Regions from separate parts of the Homo sapiens genome. Here regions 1, 2, 3 and 4 are each linked to region 5. Evidence: promoter capture Hi-C in 16 types of primary human blood cells and fetal thymus (Javierre and others, 2016). All regions are on one chromosome and are shown on one strand. Each heading gives the region's core, a stretch centred on a gene start or on the middle of the fragment in contact. The rest is flanking DNA. Distances are from core to core; before and after follow the strand shown.

Region 1 (2,811 bases), core at 312-2,811, 290 kb before region 5:
AATGGGCAGAAGGGGAGGCTGTTTGATACTTTCAGGGTCAACATTTAAACTGCAGATAATCCTGCTTTCCCAGCTCTCTCAATCCCTAATGATGGAAGATAGTGACAGTAAAAAGTTATGTTGAGTCTGAAAGGTGCCAAACCCAAAAGAGAATGTACTCTGTGATTACATATCAATGTGAAGTTCAAGAATATTAAAAACTGATCTAATGTGACAGAAGTTAGTAGAGTGACTCGCTCTGGAGGAGTGAACAGGGGCAGGAGGGACCTTTCCCAGGCAATGAAAATATTGATGTGGGTAGTAGTCAAAAGGGTGTATCCATATGCAAAAACTCATTGAGCTATACATGTAAAATTTGGTCATTTACTCTATATTAATTCTACTGCAATAGAAAGGCATCTGGGAGCAAATATACATATATACATACGTATGCCTATCTTCTCCGATATATATCCAACCATGTATTCATAATTCCTCACTTAGTTTCTAAAGGTTAGTGAGAATTTACCACCCCATTTCACAGACAGATTAAGTAAGGCAGAGAGAGAAATCTATAGCATGTTACTGGTTTTCTAGTTCTCAGTGTTCTTCAGAACTTTATACTAATCGCAGAAACAATAAAAGCTTTTTTGCCTTAGGCCAGACACGTTTGTAAAAAGGCAAAACTCGGTATAAAATGTGTCTCCCCAAACCATAAATTATATTCTTTTCAACAGCGTGTGATTTTATATACCACATTCAGGACAACTCTAAAGGGATCATTGTTTTTTCAGCAAAACTGCTTTATTTGCTAATATTCAGCTCATCCGTACTTTCTTCATCTTGGTCTGTGATAATGTGTCCCCTCATTTCTTTGTAAGATAATGGAAGATAATTCCCTAAGAATCCCATTTGCTATCTCTCTCCATTGGTAAGGTCACTTAATTTAGTGTCTTCATTAAGTACCACTCAAAGTTTAATAATTGTGCTGGCACCAGTGTCCCCTCACTCCTCTCCCAATGTATTTTGTGTCATCTATGCTTGTTACAACTCATCCCCCTTCATCTGCCCATAAACTGCAGTCATGATATTTCATGATATTATGAACACTATGTAATTTACAAATGGCCTCGCATACCTAAAGGACTGTTTAGAAAGAAAGAATAAATTGTTGCAGAGAAAGCTAGAGAAACAAGTGGAATCGCGAAGTTTCATTAGAGACAGCTCAAAGGAAGAGATTTTTACAGTGGTAGTTTCTTATTCTTAGACAAGGAGCAGACACTTGCAGGGGGGAAATAAAACAGGCAGCTATTTTGTGTTCCTAATTAAATTGTTTGCCACCAGTGGCAAAACAGAATCTGCCGCTATTAAACAGGCCACATCAAGGTAATCAACACTGGCTTACTAAATCTATTTCAGTGCAAGAGAGAACTGCAAACCTAAACAAACAAACAAGCAAAAAAATACATTGCATACCTTTGAAGTACTTTTTGTATATGAGAAGCCTGCCTCGAATGTTGAAAAAAGCAAAAGCCTCGAATTCACAGGAAGCAACATTTTTAACCTGCCCCACTGTATCCAGGTGTCAGGGAGATTCTGAATAGTCGGTAATTCTCAAAGCTACAGAACAGGAGTCTGCTTTTTCTCCCACACCTTGATGCACAGTTCCTATTAAATGTAGCTGGAGTTACAAACCATAGGAGAAAAAAATGCATCTGTCTCCTCTGCAACATTAGAATTGTGAACTGAATATTCTCACTGCCTGGGGTTTCATAGAAAACATCTGAATTATCTTTCAATGTACTGGAAAAATAAACATTAACTGCACACTTGTCCTTCTCATTTTCTGCTTTGGGATCATGCAATGCTAGTGTTAGTTAAAATATTTTTTAAATTATAACTCTCAAAGTGTTAGGACTCTTGCAATTGTACCACATCGTTGAACGTTTCCCTGGTAAAGACGTTATTCTTTAAACTGTGGTTTTCTGTTCACATCACAAATGAGAAATAGTGAAGAGATAATGCGAGGTTTAACTAGTATTTAGACATTTCTACTTTAAGACACATTTAGGTGCTTTAAGAGATAAACAGTTCCCCAGCCCACCCCACATGCGCCCCCACCCCTGCCCTGCCTCCCGGCACCCCCATGAAAACTGCAGAGTCAAGTAGTAGGGGGAAAATATAGTTCCCTACAAGGGTTTACTTCCTAATGCTGCTGCCTGATTTTAGTTCCCAGACAAGTGACAAGCCAAAACAAAAAGATAAATAAAAATCAAACACATATACAACAACAAAAACAACCCCTCACATTAACATAGGGGCCTCCTGGTGCTGGAAGCTGAAACTCCTCACAGGATCTTCTATACGCAAAAATCTGGTCTTATTTTTCTTTAACATAAGGAGAGAGTAAGATAGGGCTGAGAAATGTGATCTCTGCTGGCAGAAAAGAGAATAGAATCAGCTACTTTTATGAACACATTTAAAGCCTGTGTCATAACTTCAGAAACCTTGATGTGATTGAAGCTTAGTAAATTTCAGGAGATCTGCTTTAAAATGGTTTTGTACTATTCTTTGAGAAGTCACTTTGTTTTGCCAGCTCTGGATGCTAATAGGGACTGGTATTTTTTCCTGGCTGTGTCAATGACATCACACAAGTTGCACTCCACGATGACAAACATAGAGGAACAAAGTCCACAGAGGCATGGGCAGCAGCGATCAGGGAAAATGCCATCATGCAAAGCTCTCTCTGGTTAGATAGCTTGCATTTTCTGAGTGTTGGTTGCTTACTTGTTCTTAAAGATATACATCTTTCTTTAAGAAATTAAAGAAATG
Region 2 (2,734 bases), core at 151-2,650, 260 kb before region 5:
TTATTATTGATAATCCTCCTGCACATCCTTCTTTCATTGGCAATCTTCATTCCAATATTAAAGTGGTGTTTCTTCCTACAAACACCACCTCTTTGATCCAATGAATGCATCAAGAACTTATAGCTGCTTTTAAGGCCTACTCCCTGAGTTGGGTCCTTGCCCAGCCTATGGTGAAACTGAGGAAGACACTGAGAAGACACTGATGCAATTCTGGAAGGATTACATCATCTATAGCTATGTTAAGAGCCTTGCTTGGAATAGGGGTAATGTCACCAATTAGTGTTTGAATGGCATCTGGGAGGAGACACTCAACATTCATCAGTTGCTTCAAAGGATTTGCCAAAGATGAGGATATTGCAAAATCAGTGAGGCTGTGGTTGGAGATGGGTGTGGATGAGGATGATATTGGGGCTTTGCTGCAGGTGGCTTCTGAGGAATTAGCTAATGAGGAGTTGTTGGAACTGGAACAGAAACCCACAGCTGAAGAAGAGGCAAGAGACAAGGAAACTGCAAGAGAAGAAAAAAGAAGAACCCCCAAGAAGATTCACAGTGAAGGGTTTAGCAGAAGCTTTTGCAGGCCTCACCAAGCTTCTTAACAGCTTCTTAAAAAGTTTAAAAACATGGATCCCAACTCCAAAGTGTTTTCATTAATAGAGGGTTGCTCATGGTGCATTATCTGCTTGCAAGCAAATCTGTAATGAAAAAATGAAACAAACCAAGCAAATCATCATGGCCATATTTCTGAAAAGAGTGAAACTTCCTCAAGAAGAGCCTCACACGGGTCCCTCATGAGGTAGTCTAGAAGAAGGCATTGTTATCTTAAGACATGACAGCTCCATGCCTGTTATTGCCTGTGAAGACCTTCAAGTTGGACAAGTTGTGAAGGGGGAAGACAGTGATATTGATGATCCTGACCTTGTGTAAGCCTAGACTAATGTGTTCCATCTTGTTTTTAGCAAAAAACGTTTAGAAAGTAAAATAAATGCATTTTAAAAATAGGAGAAAGCATATAGAATAAGGATATAAAGAAAGAAAATATTTTTGTACAGCTGTACAATGTGCTTGTGTTCTCATCTAAGTGTTATTACAAAAGAATAAAAAAATTTAAAAAATTAAAAAGCTTATAAAGTTAAAATGTTATAGTAAGCTAAAGTTAATTTACTGTTAAAGGAAGAAAAATATTTTATACATTTAGGGTAGCCTAAATGTATAGCGTTAATAAAGTTTACAGTCCTTCACATTTACTCACTACTCACTCACTGACTTACCCAGAGCAACTTATGGTCCTGCAAGCTTCATTCATGCTAAGTGGCCTCTTGTACAGGTGTACCATTTTTATCTTTTATGTCATGTTTTGACCGTATCTTTTCTATGTTTAGATACATAAATGTTTACCATTGTGTTACAGTTGCCTACAGTATTCAGTTCAGTAACATGCCGTACAGGTTGGTAACCTAGGAGCAATAGGCTGTGCCATTTTGCGTAGGTGTGTATTAGACCATATGCTGTAAGCTTGTGTAACTACGCTCTATGATGTTCACACACTGATGAAATCACCTAACAACTGACACATTTCTCAGACTATATCCCTGTTGTTAAGCAGGACATGACTGCAAATCCAAGAGAACAAAGGGGAAGCTTGTATGTTTAGTTTGCTGCTATATCTGCACTTCCTGGAAAAATGCTCGGAACACCATGCATACTCTGGAAATCTTTTTCAAATATATGAAAAAAAAAGCCAGAGTTTCAGTCCAAATATCCAAGGTAGTCAGCAATTGCTTCTTCTTTTCAGTTTTAGATTCTCTATAGGCATAAGATATCTGAAACCCTGAGGGTTTTTTTCGATAATCCATGAAAATCTGAGGTAGCATATGATGTCTTTTCTTTGACCCTACATTCACTCTGGTACTAGAATTCTCAACATTGCAAAATTCAACTCTCTTCAAGCATCTGGATCATCACCTGAATTTGAGTCCCTCACTTTTTATCTTTGCCCACCTAGCATTTCATGTTCCCAAAAAGGAATGGCTTGATTGGCTCAGTCAACTATGAAGCAGAGTTCCCATACTAAGGTCCATGCTCTCCAGCCAAAGTCTACCAGGAACAAACCTAGAGCTGGGCAAGCTGAATTACTTGTTCTTGCAAATGGATAATGCATGCCCATAAGGAACTGTGGGGCATCTCAGAGAGTGTTAGAAAGGACATTTATGGCATTTGAATGGGTGTTAGGTAATTTGAGGGAGGGACCAAGGAAGCAGGGCTTTGCTCTGGATTGGATGCTCTCAGGAAGTGCAGGGTAACTCTATGATTGGGTATCTTAAATCATATCTAGAATAAGGGAAGACTAAAAATGAGGCCAAGTCTGTAATTGACAAGCACCCCTCACTCATATTAGCTGGGAGAGGGGAGGTTTGGTATTTTATGGTTTACACAGTGAACCAGTAATGATGAATACAGTGTTTTCATCTGTGCTTAGATAAGAGTATAAAGTTTTTTTTTGTTTTGTTGCTTGTTTGGTGTCACTTCTTCACACTCAAAGAGTGATCCTATCTGATGTTAGAATTCCGAGAGACCTGAGAACAACACGTCTAGCTGTGAATGCCAGGTCACAGAGACACAGCTGTGAGAGTCAGGCCGGTTCCCCATGTTAGGGACTGCTTTTCTTTTTCTCTCCAGCTGCCTCAGAGATGATTGTCACCCCTACCCCCTTTCCAGCCCACATGTGGTTATGTTT
Region 3 (2,700 bases), core at 144-2,643, 310 kb before region 5:
AGAGTTAAAAATGCGGAGGTAAAAGAGATGAGAAAAAATATGAAAGACAGATTTGACAGCAGACATAAATAATTTTCCAAAGCCAGAAACCAGAGTAATAATGAATGAAGCAATAGTAAAGGATATAATAGAAGAAGGAAAGTTTCTGGAAGAAAAATCATGACTTGAAATGACTCACCTGGATCCAGGCAAAATTAATTAAAAGGACCTACATTTAAATTAACAGTCATATTTTTCAAAACTTAAATTCAAGAACAAAGGGGGATAATATAATTATAAATCAGAAAGAAACAACAATCAGAGTGTCCCAATTTCACTTTTTCAACACTAATTGAAAAAAAAACTAAAGTGTGAAAGCTACAGAATTCACGACTGCAAAAATGTGAAACCAGCTCAAATGCTCATCAATCAACAAGTGGATAAAGAAAATGTGGTATATATAGGCCGGGCATGGTGGCTCACGCCTGTAATCCCGGCACTTTGAGAGGCCGAGGTGGGTGGATCACCTGAGGTCAGGAGTTCGAGACCAGCCTCAAAATGGAGAAACCCCTTCTCTACTAAAAATACAAAATAAGCTGGGCGTGGTGGTGCATGCCTGTGATCCCAGCTACTCGGGAGGGTGAGACAGGAGAATTGCTTGAACCTGGGAGGCAGAGGTTGCGGTGAGCTGAGATCGTGCCATTGCACTCCAGCCTAGGCAGTAAGAGTGAAACTCCGTCTCAAAAAAAAAAAAAAAAAGAAAAAGAAAAAAGAAAAAGTGGTATATATATACAATGGAATACTACTCAGCCATAAAAAGGAATGAATTAATGGCATTGGCAGTCACCTGGATGAGATTGGAGACTATTATTCTAAGTGAAGTTACTCAGGAATGGAAAACCAAACATCATATGTTCTCATTCTTTTAGTGAGAGCTAAGCTATGAGGATGCAAAGGCATAAGAATAACACAGTGGACTTTGGTGATTCCAAGGGAAAGTGTGGGAAGGGGGTGAGGAAAAAAAGACGACAAATAGGGTGCAGTGTATACTGCTCGGGTGATGGGTGCACCAAAATCTCACAAATCACCACTAAAGAACTTACTCATGTAACCAAACACCACCTGTTCTCCAATAACCTATGGAAATATATTTTTTTTTAAAGGGTGAAAGCTATAGAATGTTTTTAAAAGCTTGAGAAACAACAGTTCCACATAAAATCTGGATATTAACGCCTGTCCCAAGAGTTTCAGTCAGGCAAGGATTTAAAGCATAAATCACTGTGTGTCCTTTCTAAAAAGAGTGGATCTTGGTCATTGTTTTTTGTTTTTATGAGACCCAGCTCGCTCTGTCGCCAGGATGGAGTGCAGTGGCGCGATCCCTGCTCACTGCAACCTCCGCCTCCCGGTGTTTGTTACTACCTCAAGAATTAAAGAAATTTTTTAACTAATTCAATAAATATTTATTGAGTTAAAGAAGTAAAGAAATACAGGTCTCAGAATACGATAAATTTAATATACCCAGACTACTATACAGTTTATTCAAGATTTTCCCACTCCCAATAATTATAAAAGCCACTAATAGAGGAATAATTGTATAAATATCAGAAAACAGAAAACAAAGACAGCACTTTTATCAAGAAGCTTAAACAACTTACCACCTTTCCATATCCCATCACCCTCAGTCTCATGGAAAGACAATTTGGTTAAAGAAACCAAAAACAGCATGTGGTCCTTACAGACAACCATAATATAGAAAGGAATTTTTTCTTTATTTTGTTTTGTTTTGTTTTTAGGTACATAAATTCAAATTTTTAAATATAACTACTGTGGTAGATTGAAGATGCCCACAAATTCTTTGCCATTTCTCTCCCACCAAGAGGTGGAGTCTATTTCCCCAGTCCTTCTCCAACTGGACTCAAGTTATGACTTGTTATGACTTGCTTTTTTTTTTTTTTTTTTTTTTGAGACAGGGTCTCACTTTGTTCCCCAGGCTTGAGTGCAGTGGTGCCATCTTGGCTCACTGTAGCCTTGACCTCCGGGGTCCAAGCGATCCACATGCCTCAGCCCCCCAAGTAGCTGGGACTACAGGCATACACCAGCATACCTGGCTAATTTTTTTTGTATTTTTTGTAGAGAGAGGGTTTCACTGTGTTGGCCAGGCTGGTCTCAAACTCTTGGCCTCAAGTGATCCACCTGCTTCAGCCTCCCAAAGTGCTGGGATTACAGGCGTGAGCCACCACACCTGGCCAATTTATGACTTGCTTTTGACTGAAAAAAGGCAGCAGATGTTGGTCAAAGGATACAAAATTTCAGTTAGATAGTAGGAATAAGTTCAAGAGCTCCATTATACAATATTGTGACTATGGTTAATAACAATATATCCTATTCTTGAACATTGCTAAGAGCAGATATTAGATGTTCTCACCACACACAAAAAAAGTATGTAAGGTAATGCATATCTTTTTTATATATATATATATATTTTAAGTTCTAGGGTACATGTGCGCAATGTGCAAATTTGTTACATACGTATACATGTGCCATGTTGGTGTGCTGCACCCATTAACTCGTCGTTTACATTAGGTATATCTCCTAATGCTATCCCTCCCCTCTCTCCTCACCCCACAACAGTCCCCGGTGTGTGATGTTCCCCTTCCTGTGTCCAAGTGTTCTCATTGTTCAATTCCCACCTATGAGTGAGAACATGAAGTGTTTGGTTTT
Region 4 (2,837 bases), core at 158-2,657, 470 kb after region 5:
TTAGGACATTTTCATCTCATCTGAGTCTACCTGTCAACATTCCAGCAAGTAGGAAAGAGAAAAAGGACAAGGAGAGGACATGGGCACATTATTTCCTTTTAAGGACATGAACTGGATGTTGTACACATCACTTCCACTTGTATTTCTTCTGCCAGAACCTAGTCATATGGCCACATAGAGCAGTGAAGCTTGGAAATATGGTTTTTATTATTTGGGGCCGTGTAGCCAGCTAAAATTTAGAAGTACAGTTAGTAACAGAAGAAGGAGAAATATATTTTAAGAAACAAATAGCAATCTCTGCTCTGGGTATAAAGTTTGGCCTTCAACTGTGGAAGTTCAGAGGGCTCTGACCTTTACAAAGTCCCAGAATTGATCACTGTTAGGGAGGCTGACTCACATTAAAAAGCTTACAAGAGAGTGATGTATAAAATAAGAATGCAATAAAAATTATTATAAAAAATATTACTTCCAAAGAGACTGGATGGAAGGGTTGTTAGTACAATTGTTCCACGTTATATCATAAGCAGCATGGGGGGGCCAAATTACCAGGCGGTTGCATGGTAAGCAAAGAATGAGAAGCTCTGAGTACATAATGGCGTGTCTCTGCTGGCCCGCTCTTCCATCCTCGCACTAGATGGGCAATCACACTGGTTTCTGTCTTGGGCAGTGCTCCAACGGACCCTGCCAGACATTGTCTTCAAACTCTTCCTGGGTTGTGTCCTCTTTGTTGACCTCTCTCCTTTTTGATCAACAGCTTATTTATTTAGATGTGTTAATAACCCACCAGGTTTAATACCTTCATACTCAACCCTGAAGTCCTTTCTGCCTCTCTGTCTCTCTGCTCTGATCCACATGTATTTGTTCATGGTTTTGCGCCTATTTACCATGTCACTTCTATACTACTACGAGATTTTAGTTATCATTTCATGTAGTTGTAGCCCCTTTAGGATGACACCCTCACCTCACACCGCCTGGTGCTGAAGCTCTTCAATCGTGTCCCACCATGGCACTCCCAAATCGTGGTGATGATGACCGCAAGATGACAAGGCCTCTGTTGCCACAACTTTATGGTGTATCTACCACCTGAGCAAGAGGTGGTCACAAGTGCACTCACAAAAGTGGAGTCGGTGCCAAGAATGAAAAGTAAATGGAGATTTAAGGACACAGCATAGTTAATAAATTAAAATACAGAACTGTAGCTTTTGCACTTTGCAGTTATAGTAGGAAAGAATGAAAACGTATCATGTATTTTTAAAAACCTTAATGTGACCTTGCTGCATTTCCTCCATGTTGCAATAAGACTCCCAAACTGAGTTAGTTTCCCGCAGTAGCTCTGTGTGTGTGTGTGTGTGTGTGTGTGTGTGTTTTCCTACACACGCACACAAGTGCATACTATAACATAGCATTCTCCTGCTTCACTTCTGGCTTTAGTGGATGATGTGGGAACGCATGACTGGCTTGGTGAAATTGGGTACTTAGCAATGCTAAGACCAGATGCCCACTAAACACAATGCCAAAGAAAAATGTTGGCACCTTGTTCTTTTGGAGAGGTGACTGAATCTGATGATTCCCTGACAAGCTGGTTTGAGTCTGGGCGAAGTCACAGTCCATAAGCACTCTGAACCTAGCATACCAGGCAGAAGCTATTAAATATGAATAGTTAGAATTTGCAGCTTAGCCATTTCTGTGCCATAAAGCACACAGAATCTCCCTTTTAGGTGAAATATGTAGCTGAGATCAGCCTCTCCAAGGAAATGGGAATGGAAGTTTTTATGGGGAGAAGAAAGGGGAATTTTTAAAGTCACAAGCACTGGAAATGTTTAGGGGGTGAGGAAGAAGGGATGACTGAGAGCCCTGGAGCAGATGTGGAAGGGGTGCCCAGGGAGTCAGACAAAAGGGAAGCCAAGGAAACTATACACTCAGAAGGGTGCTGGAGCATGACCCCAGGAAGGCAGGGGCAAAGGGTAGTATTGGCCAGAAGGGGCAGTTGGATCAGGTGAACCCGCTATTATCCCTCCCTAGCATCCAGCTTTGTAGGATGGGGCTTTTTGGCAAGGACACACATCAAAGCTATGTGATGAGCAGTGGGAGGGCTGTTGGTACTGAAGGTGTTCTAATGGAAGAATTTGACAACCTAGGACAAATGGGGGTTGCTGCATGGATCCAAGTGCAAGAAAGGGGATGTTTGCTGCACCCACATGGGAGGTAAAGGGATAATGGAGACTCAGGGCAAGGGGATTCTTGGACACTCATGGAAAGTGGGCTTTTCTGGGCTGAAAGGTTCAGTCAAGAAAAGTGTACGGCCTCCTCTGGACCTGACTGTATACATATCTCACCACTAGGAGGGTAGGCCTATTTTGTGATGGACTGGACCTGCCGAGGTTTCCAGGAATTCAGAGTCCTAAGGGCAAGCTTATGATGTCTTTTGGTTTATTTAGTCAGTTGGTTGGTTGGCTTTTGTGGTTGTTTTGGTTAAAAAAAAAAAAAGACTTTTTTTGCAACATGTTGAGAAGCAGAAAGGAAGCAGTTAGGAAAGAGCAGTTGAAGAAGCTGTGGAAGAAGCAAATATGTGGGAGGAAGGTTACTCAGGAAACAGGAAAGTATAGGATTGAGGATGGAGGATGAAGGGAAGACAATGTGCTGATGGATGTGATACACATTGTCAGGGTGGTCTCTTGCTCCATGTACAACCATTAGGTGCCTAGTAGTCGCTGGGTCAGTGTTTGCCTCTCATCTTAAGCTCGATAAAGTAGGTGCTTAGAAACCAGCTTGTGCTGGGGGCTTGTAGAAAAGTAAGATATTTACTGTAACTTTTGGGGTTGGGATTTGACTTTCAA
Region 5 (2,809 bases), core at 298-2,797:
AAAAACAAATTATTTTTTAAAAAACAAAGGATTATTTTGCCCTGTATGACATTAGTGAGTGTTGTTTTGAACCTAGCAAGCTGACTCATCCTGTCTTCCTCCAATGCTGCTAAATTTCTTTCTCGAACTGTCCTTGGAACTTACATCATTTTGTTGCTTTCCTCATTTATGAGTTAAATCAATCTTTGACATATCTTCATCTTATATTTCGAGTTACATAGTTAACTTTTTGGAAATTGCACTTTAAAGTTAGCATCATTTAAAAAATTTTCCTGCTAGATTTGAAAGTGGTTATTCACTTTCAATTTAATTCAACTATTATTTACAGAATTCCCGGTTTTCTAGGTTACAGGGATGTGAAGCTGGAATATAAGAGGGGAGAGAAGGAACTGGTGATTGCCAGCCTTGTATACCAGCAACTGGGAGCCCCAAAGATTATTATGGACAATATAAAGCAGCCTTGACAGGTTAGAAGTCATTATCAAAGTTTTCCAAGGCCCTGTGTTATTTCAAGATTCTGATCACATAACTGGAAACTTGTCGATGGTTTTCAGGGGCAGTTAATATCCTGCAAAGAAAAAAATTGTTGAAGCCTCATCTTCTGGAAATGTCTGTCAACATTCAGGTATTAAATGGATTATTGTGGGCAACAGTCCTTCAGTAGCCCCCATGGAAGGGGTGGGGATTGAAGACTTTAGTTTGAAATAAACAATTAACAAAGGAGACTTAAAAGTTTAGTTGAGGACTCCTCCTCAAAATTCTGGTTGCTTTAATAATTAGAATTTCCATAAGAGTCTCAACGAAAGCCACTAATGGACCGCAGTGAAATCCTATTTCAGTATCATGAAACTGTTTTTAATCTGAAGCTTTTTCTCTTTGACCTTTTTACTCTTGAATTAAATGATAAATCTATAGATTTTCGGAACATTTTGGAGATCACGAAAGGGCACTGTGCGTTCTCTTACTGGGTGTACTGAAGTTCCAGTAAGTTTCAGGTTGAGGATGGCAATCAGGAGGACTTCGAATACTTAGATCTTGGATTCCCACAACTAGGAAAGTTGAATTGCAGGACTGGCTCTCTTCTGGTAATATTTGGACACCTTGGGAAAGGTGAATAACAGCCTTCAACTTGGGCCCCGAAACTTCTCTGTTACTTATTTTTGTAACTTAGTTCCTTGCCCATAAAACAAAGACTGACCAGTCAGAGACTTGGCTTTCTACGGATTATGTCAACTAGTCAAGGTAAGAGATTAGCACGGACCTTGGCACAAGAGAGCATTGCTTCATCCAGAGCACTTAACCAATGCTGGGATCTCCACCAAGTGTCCAGTAGGCGAAGGAGCCGGAGGGCAGTGGAGCGAGCGCACTGGGGGCTCAGACCCACCCCGGACACGCGGCTTCTCGGCCGTGTTCGGGACCTAGAGCCCGAGGGCCTCTCCCCTCGGCCTTGGCCTTGGCGTATACTGGGCGGTGGCGCGGTGCGCTCACTCCGCCCCCAGCGGGCTGGGGCGGGGACACCGTCCCCCGGGAAACGGGACGCGCTGCTTGTCCCAGGCCTTCGCTTCGGCCTGCGAGGCTACAGCTGTGCGCAGTGGCGCGGCTGCTAAGTAGCAGCAGGTGGGAGACTAGGGTCTGCGCTCGCGGCGACCGCGGAGGAGGGTGGGCGCCTGCGGAGGTGTCCTCGCTCACTTCGGGGGGCCCAGAGTCTCGGGTGAGGAGCCAGCCGGCCTCGCGTTCCCTCGGACGGTTGCCCAATGGCAGCCCAGGTGGCAGCCCGGGAGGCGCGAGACTTCAGAGAAGCCCCGACCCTTCGCCTAACCTCGGGGGCCGGCCTGGAGGCAGTGGGCGCTGTGGAGCTCGAGGAGGAGGAGGAGAACGAGGAGGAGGCGGCGGCCAGGAGAGCGCGGAGTTTCGCCCAAGACGCGCGGGTGCGCTTCCTCGGCGGCCGCCTGGCGATGATGCTGGGGTTCACGGAGGAGAAATGGAGCCAGTATTTGGAAAGCGAGGACAACCGGCAGGTTCTTGGGGAGTTTCTGGAAAGCACCAGCCCGGCTTGCCTTGTGTTTAGCTTCGCCGCCTCGGGGCGCCTTGCGGCTTCCCAGGAGGTAAGAGGCGACGGGCAAGGGGACCTGCCCATCCAACAAAACTACCCAGGGGAGACAGCCCAGTCGCTCCCCTTTGGATTCCCGCGGGGCGCTCACTCGGGCACTTTAACAAACTTGGCTTGAAGTCCCCATCCTGAGGCCCGCAGGACTCCTCCCCACGTGCACCCACTCTGCAGTTCAGCAGCTGCAGGTTAGTTTCCTAAGTCAGCAGTTTGTATCTGACCGAGAATCCCGCGTTGAGCCTGTTCGACCAGGATAACCCAAGAACACCAGCGCTTTCTTTAGCTGCTTGGGTGTTAGGCGCCAGGTGGGCTTTCTGTGCCAAAAAACTTGCGTTTCAGTTGCTCTTGGGTCACTCTGGAGTCACATCCTTTAAAAAATGGGGTGTTTGGCAGAGCGCATGTAACTCGTCACGTATTTTGATTACGTGCCAACAACACTTCACCCCAGGCAAAAACATTAAGTCCTTAAAAAGGAAGGCCCCTGCAATCTCCGCACACATGGGTGTTTACTGAACATTTAGAGGGAACAGTTCCCTCCTTTCTTCTTTTTCTTCCTTTTCTTTTTGAATTTCGATGATTTGTCCACTAAAAGGTTAACGTATCACCTAACGTACAGCACTTGTATTTAGTATTTTTCAAGTATGATGAGTTTGGAGCAAGATTCACAATTTTTAAGTAGCGCAATGCTCAGTTTAACATGTT

Evidence for each region. The method cuts DNA at HindIII sites, captures the fragments that hold promoters and counts their contacts. A CHiCAGO score of 5 or more calls a contact.
Region 1: a fragment that was not itself captured here is called in contact with the fragment with the promoter of DNAH11 in region 5 in 4 of 17 cell types (non-activated CD4 T cells, erythroblasts, fetal thymus and 1 more); the score reaches 6.4 in non-activated CD4 T cells.
Region 2: a contact is called between a fragment that was not itself captured here and the fragment with the promoter of DNAH11 in region 5, in 1 of 17 cell types (activated CD4 T cells). The highest score is 5.7, in activated CD4 T cells.
Region 3: a fragment that was not itself captured here is called in contact with the fragment with the promoter of DNAH11 in region 5 in 1 of 17 cell types (total CD8 T cells); the score reaches 5.9 in total CD8 T cells.
Region 4: a fragment that was not itself captured here is called in contact with the fragment with the promoter of DNAH11 in region 5 in 1 of 17 cell types (naive B cells); the score reaches 7.2 in naive B cells.

Annotation. Positions count from the first base shown.
Region 1 is chr7:21,248,956-21,251,766 of GRCh38, forward strand. No RefSeq gene overlaps it. Among named protein-coding and RNA genes, the nearest start is that of SP4, 180 kb to the right of the region's middle. The HindIII fragment of the contact is 1,878 bases long and covers 623-2,500 here.
Region 2 is chr7:21,281,051-21,283,784 of GRCh38, forward strand. No RefSeq gene overlaps it. Among named protein-coding and RNA genes, the nearest start is that of SP4, 150 kb to the right of the region's middle. RefSeq lists an enhancer at 63-564. The HindIII fragment of the contact is 219 bases long and covers 1,292-1,510 here.
Region 3 is chr7:21,229,603-21,232,302 of GRCh38, forward strand. No RefSeq gene overlaps it. Among named protein-coding and RNA genes, the nearest start is that of SP4, 200 kb to the right of the region's middle. The HindIII fragment of the contact is 450 bases long and covers 1,169-1,618 here.
Region 4 is chr7:22,012,390-22,015,226 of GRCh38, forward strand. No RefSeq gene overlaps it. Among named protein-coding and RNA genes, the nearest start is that of CDCA7L, 68 kb to the left of the region's middle. The HindIII fragment of the contact is 2,006 bases long and covers 405-2,410 here.
Region 5 is chr7:21,541,492-21,544,300 of GRCh38, forward strand. DNAH11 (dynein axonemal heavy chain 11) reads left to right here and starts at 1,548. Exons shown (of 82, transcript NM_001277115.2): 1 at 1,548-2,105. The coding sequence starts at 1,755. RefSeq lists an enhancer at 870-1,371 and a silencer at 1,420-1,469. The HindIII fragment of the contact is 2,819 bases long and covers 865-2,809 here.